Linked DNA regions of Homo sapiens: region 2 is linked to region 1. Evidence: promoter capture Hi-C in 16 types of primary human blood cells and fetal thymus (Javierre and others, 2016). All regions are on one chromosome and are shown on one strand. The core of a region is centred on a gene start or on the middle of the fragment in contact, and the rest is flanking DNA. Distances in the headings are between cores, read along the strand shown. Region 1 holds the start of RPS15 (ribosomal protein S15). Region 2 overlaps POLRMT (RNA polymerase mitochondrial).

Region 1 (6,148 bases), core at 1-2,500:
AGGCGGGAGGGTCGCTTGAGCCCAGGAGTTCAAGACCAACCTGGACGACACAGAGAAACGCTGTTTCCACAAATAATCAAAAATCAAGGTCGGGCGCGGTGTTCACGCCTGTAATCCCAGCACTTTGGGAGGCCGAGGCAGGTGGATCACCTGAGGTCAGGAGTTTGAGACCAGCCTGGGCAACACTGAAACTCGTCTCTACTAAAAATACAAAAATTAGCCGGACGTGGTGGGGGGGCCCTCTAATCCCAGCTACTCGAGAGGCTGAGGCAAGAGAATCGCTTGAACCCGGGAGTGGGAGGCTGCAGTGAGCTGGGACGGAGCCATTGCACTCCAGCCTGGGCGACAGGATGAGACTCCGCCTCAAAATAATCAAAAATTAAAAAATAAAAGCGCAAGCCAGATGCCCACCACCACCCTGCCTGGAAAGGACCCAGCGACCTCCACCGCCCTTAAAATCTAAGGAGTCTAACGCAGCCCCTTATTCTAAGTCACGTGGGCTACAGACAGGGGCTACACCTTCCAACTAAGCCGCGGAAAAGTGAACAACGGGGGGCAGGTTGCAAATAAGCAAAAACCTCAACGTCTCTGGACAGTTTTCTGGGCGCAAGACCACACTCAGTTCCAAACCCGCGCGGAGACCGTGCCCGCCCACCGCCGCAGAGGCGCTTGGACCCCCGCCCCGCCGCCCTCACCCGGACAAGCCCCACCGCTGGCCCAGCCCCTGCCCGCGACCCCCGCGGCCGCCCTTACTAGGACATGTCCAGCAGCTGGTCGAGGTCCACGCCGCGGTAGGTGAACTTGCGGAAGGTCCGCTTCTTCTTCTGCTCTACTTCTGCCTGTGCGGGCGCGGATCGGGCGTCAGCGGGATCCCGACACCCATCTCCCGGGGCCACCGGGCCCGAGGACACCGCGGAAGACGCGCGGCGCCGCCGGGGACAGAAGCCCGACAGGGACACACCGCTTCGACCCGTCCCCGGGGATCACTCGCGGCTCCGGGTTACGAGGACCCGGACATGAAGGCCCGGACAGGCCTTCCCAGCCCCGCGTCGTCCCGACACCCACCAAGTCCGCCCCTCGCCCCAACATCCAGCCGCCTGCAGGGTCGGGAGCAAGCCGCCGTAGCCGCGGGGACGAACTGCGGCCCCCGCGAGACGGTCAGAGGTTGGATGGAGCCGGATAGGCCCGGCAGAGACGCGCCAAATCGCAACACTCACCATCTTGCCGGATCCTCAGAAGAGATCGCTTTGGTCCGCGCCTGCGCAGTTATCGCGAGACTGCCGGCATGTCCCGCCCCCTCGGCCGTGCGCGCACACGCGCTTCCGCTTTCCCGGCGGCGAACACGCGCCCTCTGCCGTCTGGAGGGCAAAACACAGGCTGCAGGGATTAGAGCAGCCGCCGCCTGAGGTCTGCAGAGCCGCTTCCTCCACGGAGTGGGACTTTGGACAAGTCGCCGCCCCTGTCTGAGCCTCGGGTTCGTGCTCCGTCATCTACACGATGGCACCCACATCAACAAGTATTTATGGAGCGCCTACCGTTTGCTCGTAGGTGCGGTTTGGCGGTTCAGGTCCCACTGTGGGAGGAACACGAGAATTCATTACAGATACTGGAGCAGGGACAGGGCCTCGCTGAAAAGAACCATTCCGGCTTTAACAGATAAAATTTTGTATATAAAGTTAGTAAGGACAACACAGTGAGACTGCCTCTCTACAAAAAAATACAAAAATTTGTGTACACACGGACATAAAAGAATAAAAAGTACAAAAAATTCCCAGCTACTCGGGAGGCTGAGCCTTCAGCCCAGGAGGTCAAGGCTGCAGTGAGCCGTGATCGCGCCAACGGCACTCCAGCCTGGGCGACAGAGCAAGACCCTGCCTCAAAAATAAAGTTAGGAATATCACTGGGTTTGTTAAGATATGTAAATGTAATGTGAATAATGATAGCTCAAAGAGAAGGAGTAACTAGAACTATGTAGGAGTGACTTTTTTTTTTTTTTGAGACAGAGTTTCACTCTTGTTGCCCTGGCTGGAGTGCAGTGGTGTGATCTCGGCTCACTGCAACCTCTGCCTCCTGGGTTCAAGCGATTCTCCTGCCTCAGCCTCCCAAGTAGCTGGGATTACAGGCACCTGTTACCGTGCCCGGCTAATTTTGTATTTTTAGTAAAGACACGGTTTCTCCATGTTGGCCAGGCCATGTTGGTCTCGAACTCCTGACCTCAGGTGATCCACCCGCTTTGGCCTCCCAAAGTGCTGGGATTACAGGCGTGAGCCACCGCGCCTGGCCTAGGAGTGATGTTTCTGTATCTTACTGGAATTAAGTATAAAGTTGAAGGTGACTATTAACTATGGATGTGGCACCTGGCTGGGCGTGGTGGCTTATGCTTGTAATTCCAGCACTTTGGGAGGCCGAGGCGGGCGGATCACCTGAGGTCAAGAGTTCAAGACCAAGCTGACCAACCCTAACTCTACTAAAAATACAAAAAATTAGCCAGGCGTGGTGGTGGGTGCCTGTAATCCCAGCTCCTTGGGAGGCTGAGGCAGGAGAACCGCTTGAACCCGGGAGGCGGAGGTTGCAGTGAGCTGAGATCGCACCACTGCACTCCAGCCTGGGCGACAGAGACTCCTTCTCAAAAAAAAAAAAAAAAAAAAAAAAGAAAAAGAAAAAAAAAAAGCACAAAACCTCTGGGAACCCGAGCTTAGCTGTGGCACTGTCCAGGGAGCTGAGCTCTCCCCAGCCGTCCCCACAGTCCCAAGGGAAGCCAATTACACTGTACTCAGGGAGGGCTGAGTCTCCGTCCCGAGGAGCACAGGACCTATGTGTCGGGCCCGTCCATGTTACCCATTTTCCTGCAGCAGAGTGTCCTGGCTGGAAAGCTGATTTTGTGAGTGCTGCTCTTTGGCTGGGGGAGCTAATGTAACGGGAGGGGCTGACACTCAACACCATGATGACCTGTGGTGTGGATAGACAGCCGCCCCCGCCTGGCCCTCCTGGGAGCTGGGGCAGCAGCTCCTGAGGACATGGGAGAAGGCTCTGACGGCAGGGAATGGAGCTGGCTTCCTGGGCTGAGGCGTTGAGGGGTACTGTCTCAGTGAGGAAACTGCACTGCACAGGGATGTTGGGGGTACCCCTTCTCTTGGTTCTCTCCAAACTAAGTCAAACCTTCCCTGTCCCCAAAATATGAACTGGGGCGGGGGGGGGTGGTTCTGGCTGTCGCCTGAACAGTCTCACGCCTGGCACGCTGTAGGCTTCCAGTTTGGGACTTCATGGTCCTTTTTTTTTCTTGTTTTGTTTTTTGAGACGGAGTTTCGCTCTTGTTGCCCAGGCTGGAGTGCAATGGCGCAATCTCGGCTCACTGCAAGCTCCGCCTCCCAGGTTCAAGCGATTCTTCTGCCTCAGCCTCCCAAGTAGCTGGGATTACAGGCATGCACCACCACACCCGGTTAATTTTTGTATTTTTAGTAGAGACGGGGTTTCTCCATGTTGGTCAGGCTGGTCTCGAACTCCCGACCTCAGGTGATCCGCCCGCCTCGGCCTCCCAAAGTGCTGGGATTACAGTCGTGAGCCACCGCGCCCGGCCCTTTTTAAGTCTCGCCTTCCCTGCCACAGTGACAGAGTATCCCTTTCCAAAGATGCCCCTGTCCTAATCCCCAGAACCTGGGGATATGTCACCTTCCATGGCAAAAGATATGATTAAAGGTCTTGAGATGGGAAAAGCCTGGAGCCCACATTCCCCGAGAAAACTGGTGGTGGCCACATCCTCAAAGTCACAGCATCCCAAGACCCACTGAGGGATGGGCCCAGCTCGCCACTCAGCCTCTGCCCTGAAGCCCTCGGGGTTGCTGAGACCACCAAGAGCCAAGGGGAGGGCGAGGGCGCCTCCGTCGCGTTTCAGACCTTTCCTAGGCACTGGAAGGGTAGGCACAGGCCAAGACCAAGGAGGGAAAAAACGGACACAAAGTGGTTTCTAATCCAAACGCACTTCTCTTTATTCAAACCAGGGTCAAACTGGTCAATGGGAAACGCCCTGAAGCCACGTGCCTGGGGAGAAAGGCTTCCTACTCGGTTCGGTTCAGCGCTGCGTGGGATCCACGCGGCTGGCTGTGCGCAACCCCCACAGTTCACCTCAGACACTACCAAGCAGGTCAGTCGACAAAAGCAAGGAATTAAACAAAAAACAGAAATACACTCAGTAGATTTCTTCTAGAAGCTCCCAGAGTTTCTGGACCACCAAGTCCCAACCCCCAAAGCCAGGAGCGAGGGGACTAACAGCGCACCCCCTCCACCAGTGCCGACGGAAACCCCGTTTTAAATTAAAAAATAAGCCAGTATACATCGTAGAAAATTTCTCTTAAAAATCTCACAATTTGTAAATGTATATTTTTTCTTTAACATAAAAGTTTACAATATACCGTAAAACAAAAGGCTCAGGAAAATAATTTCCAAAAAAAAGGAAGAAAAAGAAACCTGAAGTTTTGAATTAAAGCTGAAGACATTTTTTTTAAACCCTGTTGTTGAACCAGTGACTTTTTTTTATTGTGCTGATGGGTTAGAGAAAGAAATATTTAAAAACCTCAGTCCAGACGACACCCACAGCCGCTCCAAAAGCCTCGCGCCCTCCCCCCGCCCCCCCCCCCAAGGTTGAGTCGCCACTTTGCCGCCAAGTTTGTGATTGTCACGAGTTCACAAGTTTGGAATCCTGGGTCTGGGCCGTGCAGACGTCGCGGCGCCGCGGGCTAGCGTCGGTAGGGGTGGAACCCTTGCACGTTGTGGTTCTGCCCTCGTCCAAAGCCGCTGCCGCCGGCGGGGGGGCCCCCCGACCCTGGCACGGAGGGACCCCCGTAGGAAGGAGGCTGCTGGCTGGGGTCTGAGAAGCCCTGTCCGAAGCCACTCAAGTCCTGCCCGTAACCTGCTGGGGGAGAAAGTCCTGTGAGCTCGGGGCGGTCCCTGGGCGGTTGGCACTGCCGTCGAGCGAGGCCACCTGGACACAGCTCCGCCGAGCCTGCCTTGAGTCCACGGGTCCCACGGGGTGCGGGTGGGGCCCTTCTGAGGCCAGCACCTGGGCCGGGGAGAGGACCCCGGGCATGTTCTCTCCCTCAAAAACATGTGAGCAGGGGCACACACAGAGAAAAGCGGCTTCCAGAGCCCTCCATGGCCCACGTAACCTCACCGCTTCCCTGTTCAATCCCGAAGACGTGGTTGGGGGGGTGAGGGGAGGTAGAGAAGCCTCGGGGCTTGGAGACACACATGGCCCAAGGCACGGTGGACCAGGCTTCTAGAAAGCTGGCTCTCGGAGTTTCAGAAAACCCCTGACGGGCCCTTGCAGCGATACAGGGCCTGCCCCTCCGTCGCAGACCAGACCCCACGTTGTCCTTCCTGTCAGGGCACGTCCATCGGTGGCACGTGTCAGGGAAGGGTTTCTGGGCCCAACCTGACTGCCCCAGTGACACCACTGGCTGAGGGGCCAGCACACCCTGCAGCCCGTCCGGCCCACACAGCCGACCTCAGGAGCATGGACAGCGGTGTCTTTACAAGGACAGAGCTGCTCACGCCGCTCCCCACCCCGCTGCACACCTTGCAGGAAGCCCCTCCCACGACCTCTGGGTTCCCATTCGGGTGCACGTGGGCACAGGTGGGCGTGGGCTCTCTCTGGGGGATCCTGGGCCCGCTGAAGGCTTGTGGCCAATGTCTTGGCACCGGCAAGGGCCCCTTCCCAGAGGGCACCGCCAGCGTCCACCCCCGCCCGGGACGGCAGAGGAAGCCACGTCCACCTCCCGGTGCAGGCGGGTGGGAGGACCCTGGAGAAGGAGGCGGCACCTACCTAGGCCACATCACTGCTCAGCCTGACCATAAGACTGTAAACAAAGTGTGGGCCGCAGCCCGGCGGGGCTGGAGAATAGGAACCCAGGCCTGGCAAGAGACGAGACCAGGGTGACCAACCCAAGCAGCCGCCACCAAGAGCAGCGGCTGACACACGCCACGCCCCAACCGGGCGCCTCACACCCCCCTGCCAGTCTCAGACACGCCAGGGTTTGGTGGTGAGTGGGTCAAGAACCCACACATGCGGCAACCTCGGCCCAAGGCCTGGGCGTGGGGGCAGGGGAACCACAGCCATGCGAGGTGGGTGGGCGGGCACCTCGGCCGAACACAG
Region 2 (6,647 bases), core at 1,212-3,711, 810 kb after region 1:
CTCCCGAGGAGCTGAGATTACAGGCGTGAGCCACCGTATCCGGCCAAAGTTTCTCCTCGGAACTCTTGGTTGTTTTGGAGGGTGTTGTTTACACACCCTTTCAAAGCAGCAAACGTTCCCAGCTTTCTCCCCCCCCATGATCCTTCAGCCCTAATTTGAGAAACAACAGTAAAAGCTTCTCTTAATATTTGGGTAAACATGGGATACTATTATATTAAAATACAGATATCGCAATATTAAGACCAATTCGTGGTAGAGAACTTGATGTGCTTCTTTATTAACGCATCAAACAGCGAAATTCAGGATCAGGTGGGGCCAGTCTTGCGGTGAAGTCCGCAGTGCTCTTACCGCGAGGTGGAGGCGGCGTGCTGCCTGGTTCCTCCTTGCTGCAGGGGGCGCCAGACTCCGGGAGGACTGAGGATGAGGGTCGTGTATTTTCCCCTCCAAGGTCACAAGCCCCCTGGATTCCCTGGGCAGAGAGCCCACACTGTAACAGGGCGCTTTTGGGATCGGCCCCTACGAAAGTGTCCCAAACCTGGCGGCTTGCACAGCAGAAACGCACTCTTAGCACGAGCCCAGAAGTCTGGAATCAAGATGTCTGCAGACCCGAAGTCTCTCCAGAGGCTCTAGCAGGGGCCCCTCCTGCCTCTCCCAGCGTTCCGGGGTGGCCAGCAGTCCTGGATGTCGCTGGACTGCGAGCTCAGCCTCCCGAGCAGCTGGGATTACAGGCGTGTGCCACCACCCCCGGATAATTGTTTTAATTTTTATTTTTAGTAGAGGTGGGGTTTCAGCATGTTAGCCAGGCTAAGGCATTGCTTCTATCTTTTTTTTTTTTTTTTTTTTGAGATAGACTCTCTGTCTGTTGCCCAGGCTAGGGTGCAGTGCCATGATCTCGGCTCACTACAGCCTCCGCCTCCTGGGTTCAATAATTCTCCCTGCCGCAGCCTCCTGAGTGGCTGGGATTACAGGGACTCACCACCACGCCCGGCCAATTTTTGTATTTTTAGTAGAGACGGGCTTTTGCCATGTTGGCCGGGCTGGTCTCAAACTCCTGACCTCAGGTAATCCGCCCGCCTCAGCCTCCCTAAGTGCTGGGATTACAGGCGTGAGCGACCGCGCCCGGCCACGTATTCTAACCAGCACCATCCAGTAGAACTTTCTATGATGTTGGGAATTTTCCGCATCTGCCAACAGCTGTGTGTGCTACTGAACACTTGAAGCTGGTGAAAGGGAAGAACTGAATATTTCAATTTAAGGACTATGTGTGGCCAGTGAGGTCTACCATACAGAGGTTGTTTAGAAACTGCCCCAAAACCGGCCGGGCACAGTGGCTCACGCCTGTAATCCCAGCACTTTGGGAGGCTGAGGCGGGCGGATCACGAGGTCAGGAGATGAGACCATCCTGGCTAACACAGTGAAACCCCGTCTCTACTAAAAATATACAAAAAATTAGCCGGGTGTGGTGGCGGGCGCCTGCAGTCCCAGCTACTTGGGAGGCTGAGGCAGGAGGATGGAGTGAACCTGGGAGGCAGAGCTTGCAGTGAGCCGAGATCGAGCCACTGCACTCCAGCCTGGGCGACAGAGCGAGACTCCGTCTCAAAAAAAAAAAAAAAAAAAAATGCCCCAAAACTCATGTCTCTGGTCTCTGGTGTGTGGCCACCTCATGTCACAGCATGTCTTCAGCTGCAGGACTATGGGGTGGGAGGATGTAAGGGAATTTTTTTCCCTTTGGAATAGTCTGTTACAGTTACAGGCCACTCTTAAGCAGCCACTGGGTCAAAGGAGAAATTGCTCAGAACAGGGATGTCAGGAAAAATGAATACAAGAAAAAAATTATATATATATGTTATTTTATATATATATATATATGTGTGTGTGTGTATATTTTAAGACAGAGTCTCCAAGTCTGTCGACAGCAAAGTTTCTGTCTCCCAGGCTGGAGTGCAGTGGTGAGATCCCGGCTTACCGCAATTTCCGCTTTCTGCGTTCAAGTGATTCTCCTGCCCCAGGCTCCCAGTAGCTGAGATTACAGGCATGTGCCACCACGCCCAGCTAATTTTTTTTTTTTTTTGTATTTTTAGTGGAGGGAGCACAGGCATGAGCCACCACGCCCAGCTAATTTTTTTTTTTTTTTTTTGTATTTTTAGTGGAGATGGGGTTTCACTATGTTGGCCAGGCTGGTCTTAAACTCCTGACCTTGTGATCCTCCTGTCTTGGCCTCCCAAAGTGCTGGGGTTACAGGCATGAGCCACTGTGCCTGGCCAAAAATTAAATGAAAAAAAAAAAAATTGCAGGGGATATTTAAGCTATACATGGCTGGGCGTGGTGGCTCACACCTGTAATCCCAGCACTTTGGGAGGCCGAGGCGGGTGGATCCCCTGAGGTCAGGAGTTGGAGACCAGCCTGGCCAACAGGGCGAAACCCCATCTCTACTAAAAATACAAAATAATTAGCTGGGTGTGGTGGCATGTGCCTGTAGTCCCAGCTACTCAGGAGGCTGAGGCAGGAGAATCGGTTGAACCCGGGAGGCGGAGGTTGACAGTGAGCTGAGATTGCGCCACTGCACTCCAGCCTGGGCGACAGAGCGAGACTCTATCTAAAAAAATAATTAAATAAAATTTCCAAAGAAGAAGTAAACTATGAAGTTCGAAAACACTTGGAGATAATGAAAATGAAAACACCACCTGTCAGAAGTCCTGGGATGCAGCTGACACAGTGCTCGCAGGGTAATTTATAGTCACAAAATGCCTATATTCGGAAAGGTGATGGCCGGGCGCGGTGGTGCACACCTGTCATCCCAGCACTTTGGGAGGCTGAGGCTGGCGGATCACGATGTCAGGAGTTCGAGACCAGCCTGGCCAGCATGGTGAAACCCCGTATCTGCTAAGAATACAAAAAATTAGCTGGTGTGGTGGCGTGTGCCTGTAATCCCAGCTACTCAGGAGGCTGAGGCAGGAGAAGTGCTGGAACCTGGGAGGCAGAGAACCCGGCCCAGCTGAGATTGTGCCACTGCACTCCAGCCTGGGCAACAGAGCAAGACTCCATCTTGGGGGGAAAAAAAGTGAAACATCTCAGACCAAATACGTCACCTTTCACCTTAGGAAACTAGAAGAAGAAGCTGTCACTAAACCTAAAGCAAGTAGATGAGAGGAAGTTACAAAGATTAAAACAAATCGATGAAATGGAAGGCAGAAACAGCAGAGAACAGTCAAGCCAAGTCAGTCCTTTGAAAAGATCCACACAATTGACAAATCTGGAGGTTTAACAAGCTGCCTCCCAGAGGAACGTGAACCTCCCACAGTCCCACCTGGCGGGCCATGCGGCTGCCTCTGCAGGTGGAGCTTGTGTGTCAGAACCTCAGGGGGATGCATCGGTCTGCCCAGCTGGCCACTCCTGCCTGGTGACCCTGTCCCCTGCTGAGCTGGTGGCTACAGAGAAGGGGTCTCCAGGGAGCAGGGAGGATGTGGAGGTTGGGCCATCCCCCCAGACCCTCACCCTGGCTTGGTCTCCCAGGGTGCCTTCAAGGAGCTGGTATATGTGTTATTCATGGTGAAGGATGCCGGCTTGACTCCGGACCTGCTGTCCTATGCGGCTGCCCTCCAGTGCATGGGGAGGCAGGACCAGGACGCCGGGACCATCGAAAGGTAGGTGGTGTCGGGAGGGCCCCCACCCCCCACCATGTCCCTCCCAGGGTTTTAAGATCTGGGACGGTGCCTGGGCTGGGGGCTGGGGACCCCCAGAGGGCCTGACAGCCACACCGAGACCTGCAGGCTAGCAGGAGGTGGTCACGAGGTTCCCCTGGGGTCTGTGGAAGCCCAGCGTGGGGCTGGCCCGTCCCTCGAGCAGGCCGCCTGCACCACAGGTGTCTGGAACAGATGAGCCAGGAGGGGCTGAAGCTGCAGGCACTCTTCACCGCCGTTCTGCTGTCTGAGGAGGATCGGGCCACTGTTCTGAAGGCCGTGCACAAGGTGAAGCCCACCTTCAGCCTCCCGCCGCAGCTGCCGCCCCCGGTCAACACCTCCAAGCTGCTCAGGGACGTGTATGCCAAGGTGAGCCCACGTGGGCCCCGGCAGACTTCAGTCCTTATAGCTGCCCTTTGGGGGTTCCTGGAGCCTCAGCTCAGACCAATGGGCCTCCCCGGTGCCCAGGGCTCACCTGGGCTGGGCCCTGAATTCCTCCCTTCCTCCTCTGAGAAGATGGGAGGACCCAGAGCTGGGAGGGTCTTGGCCCTGAGGGTGTGGGCTCAGGGGGACGAGGTGGTCGGGGGCCGCAGAGAGAGGGTGGGGTGACAGGAGAGCAGTGCGTTTGAGTGGGGCTGCCAGGTGCACGCAGTGGGCTCGTCTGTTACTGAGGTGTAATTCACCTGCCATAAAACCCTCTTAAAGGTGTAATTCAGCGATTTTAGTGTAGTCACGGTTGTCTAATTCTAGAATGTTCCATCACCCTAAAAGGAAGCCTCGTCCCCATCCCCGTCACTCCCCATCCCCTCCCCATCTGTGGATGAGTCTGCTCTGGACATTCCATAGAAATGGGACCACACACTGCGAGACCTTTTGTGTTTGGCATCTCCCACTGAGCGTGACGTCCTCATGGTGCCTCCGGGAGGCGACCTGGGTCAGGGCTGAGTCATGCTCCGGTGCGTGGATGGCCGCGCCGTGCCCGTCTGTTCGTCCGTTTATGGGACGTTGGGCTGTTTCTACTTATCGACTGCGAGTCATGCAGCTGTGAACGTTTGTGTACAAGCTTTTATGTGGACGTGCGTCTTTGATTCTCAAAGCGCTAGGCTTTAGTTGTTATTTTTAATTCATCTATTTCTGGATGGGTCACATTCATACAGTTCTGAGTTTGAGGAGAAAACAGCCAACATCTGGGGGTGCAGTGAACGGTCTCCCCAGGCTCTGCCAGCTCCCAGCATCACCGCCCCTGCCACCCCCTGCACGGTGCCCAGTGTCCCTTCTAGAGGGGTCGAGGCCAGGAGGGTCAAGGCCTTTGGTTTGCACTGCTGGCACTGACTTTACCCGCAGCCCGCCTTTCCCCGCGTCAGCGATAGCCACCAGCAACTTGCAGGAGACGCAGAAACGCGTGCACCCATGCTGTCTCGGGGTCCTGGGAGGGCAGGTCGCCCTCTGGCAAGCCCCCAACCTCACTACCCCCATCCCTGCAGGATGGGCGTGTGTCCTACCCGAAGCTGCACCTGCCCTTGAAGACCCTGCAGTGCCTCTTTGAGAAGCAGCTCCACATGGAGCTGGCCAGCAGGGTGTGCGTGGTGTCCGTGGAGAAGCCCACGTTGCCAAGCAAGGAGGTCAAGCACGCGGTAGGGGCTGAGCCGGGGTCCCGTGTCCGCCGCAGGGGCTGAGCCGGGGTCGCGTGTCCACCGCACGGGCTGAGCCGGGGTCCCGTGTCCGCCGCAGGGGCTGAGCCGGGGTCGCGTGTCCGCCGCAGGGGCTGAGCTCCGTGTATGCGGTTGAATTGCTCATGCCCTGGTCTGGTCATGCAGGGCCTAGGAACTCAGCCTGGCTGCCGCTCAGGGAAAACTTGTGGGGTCCCGAGGTTGGGTCTTGGCCTGTGCTTCTGCGCACACTGCAGCTGGGCTTTTGCTCTTGGCTGCGTCAGGCACGCTGAAGCCGGCAGAGGGCAGGCCGGGGTGAGGAGCTACCCGGAACACACAGCAGGGACCTTGAGGGCCATGAGGTCTCTGCAGGGAGCTGCGGTGACCCCCGTCCTGTGAGCCTGGGTCCCACCAGCTGCCACGGGGCTCACCGGGCCCGTTCATCCCCCGCAGCGGAAGACCCTGAAGACCCTGCGGGACCAATGGGAGAAAGCACTGTGCCGGGCGCTGCGGGAGACCAAGAACCGCCTAGAGCGCGAGGTGTACGAGGGCCGGTTCTCACTTTACCCCTTCCTGTGCCTGCTGGACGAGCGCGAGGTGGTGCGGATGCTCCTGCAGGTGCGTCTTCCTCCGCGCGGCCGGGTCCCCGGGCGGGGCGGGCAGGCACTCACGGCTGCCTTCCGCAGGTCCTGCAGGCGCTGCCCGCCCAAGGTGAGTCCTTCACCACCCTGGCCCGGGAGCTGAGTGCGCGCACTTTCAGCCGGCACGTGGTGCAGAGGCAGCGGGTCAGTGGCCAGGTGCAGGCGCTGCAGAACCACTACAGGAAGTACCTCTGCTTGCTGGCCTCCGACGCCGAGGTGAGGCTCGCACCCCCTCTCCTCCTGGCTGGGGCCAGTGGTGGGTGGGCGCTCTCCCTCCCTGGAGCAGCCGGGTTTGCACCCAAGCTTCAGTCTGTTCATCTGTATGCTTGGGCTGACAGATGCCCCACCGGGCGTCAGGCACGGGCGGTGGGGCATCTAGCTCAGGGGCCCCGGTGCCCAGCGCCCTGACCGCCCTGTCCTACAGGTGCCCGAGCCCTGCCTGCCGCGGCAGTACTGGGAGGAGCTGGGGGCGCCCGAGGCCCTGCGGGAGCAGCCCTGGCCCCTGCCAGTGCAGATGGAGCTGGGCAAGCTGCTGGCGGAGATGCTGGTGCAGGCTACGCAGATGCCATGCAGCCTGGACAAGCCGCATCGTTCCTCTCGGCTTGTCCCCGTGCTCTACCACGTGTATTCCTTCCGCAACGTCCAGCAGGTGCCAGGCAGTGCCCTCCTGAGCTGGG

Evidence for each region. The method cuts DNA at HindIII sites, captures the fragments that hold promoters and counts their contacts. A CHiCAGO score of 5 or more calls a contact.
Region 2: a fragment that was not itself captured here is called in contact with the fragment with the promoter of RPS15 in region 1 in 1 of 17 cell types (neutrophils); the score reaches 7.6 in neutrophils.

Annotation. Positions count from the first base shown.
Region 1 is chr19:1,433,498-1,439,645 of GRCh38, reverse strand. It overlaps RPS15 (ribosomal protein S15), which reads right to left and starts at 1,250. Exons shown (of 4, transcript NM_001018.5): 1 at 1,218-1,250; 2 at 754-839. The coding sequence starts at 1,220. DAZAP1 (DAZ associated protein 1) reads right to left here. Exons shown (of 12, transcript NM_018959.4): 12 at 3,962-4,909. The coding sequence ends at 4,734. RefSeq lists enhancers at 1,007-1,226, 635-1,505, 4,882-5,385. The HindIII fragment of the contact is 15,360 bases long and covers 1-6,148 here.
Region 2 is chr19:622,121-628,767 of GRCh38, reverse strand. It overlaps POLRMT (RNA polymerase mitochondrial), which reads left to right. Exons shown (of 21, transcript NM_005035.4): 4 at 3,514-3,644; 5 at 3,863-4,049; 6 at 5,165-5,314; 7 at 5,783-5,947; 8 at 6,016-6,186; 9 at 6,395-6,619. Among named protein-coding and RNA genes, the nearest start is that of POLRMT, 8.1 kb to the left of the region's middle. The HindIII fragment of the contact is 4,568 bases long and covers 178-4,745 here.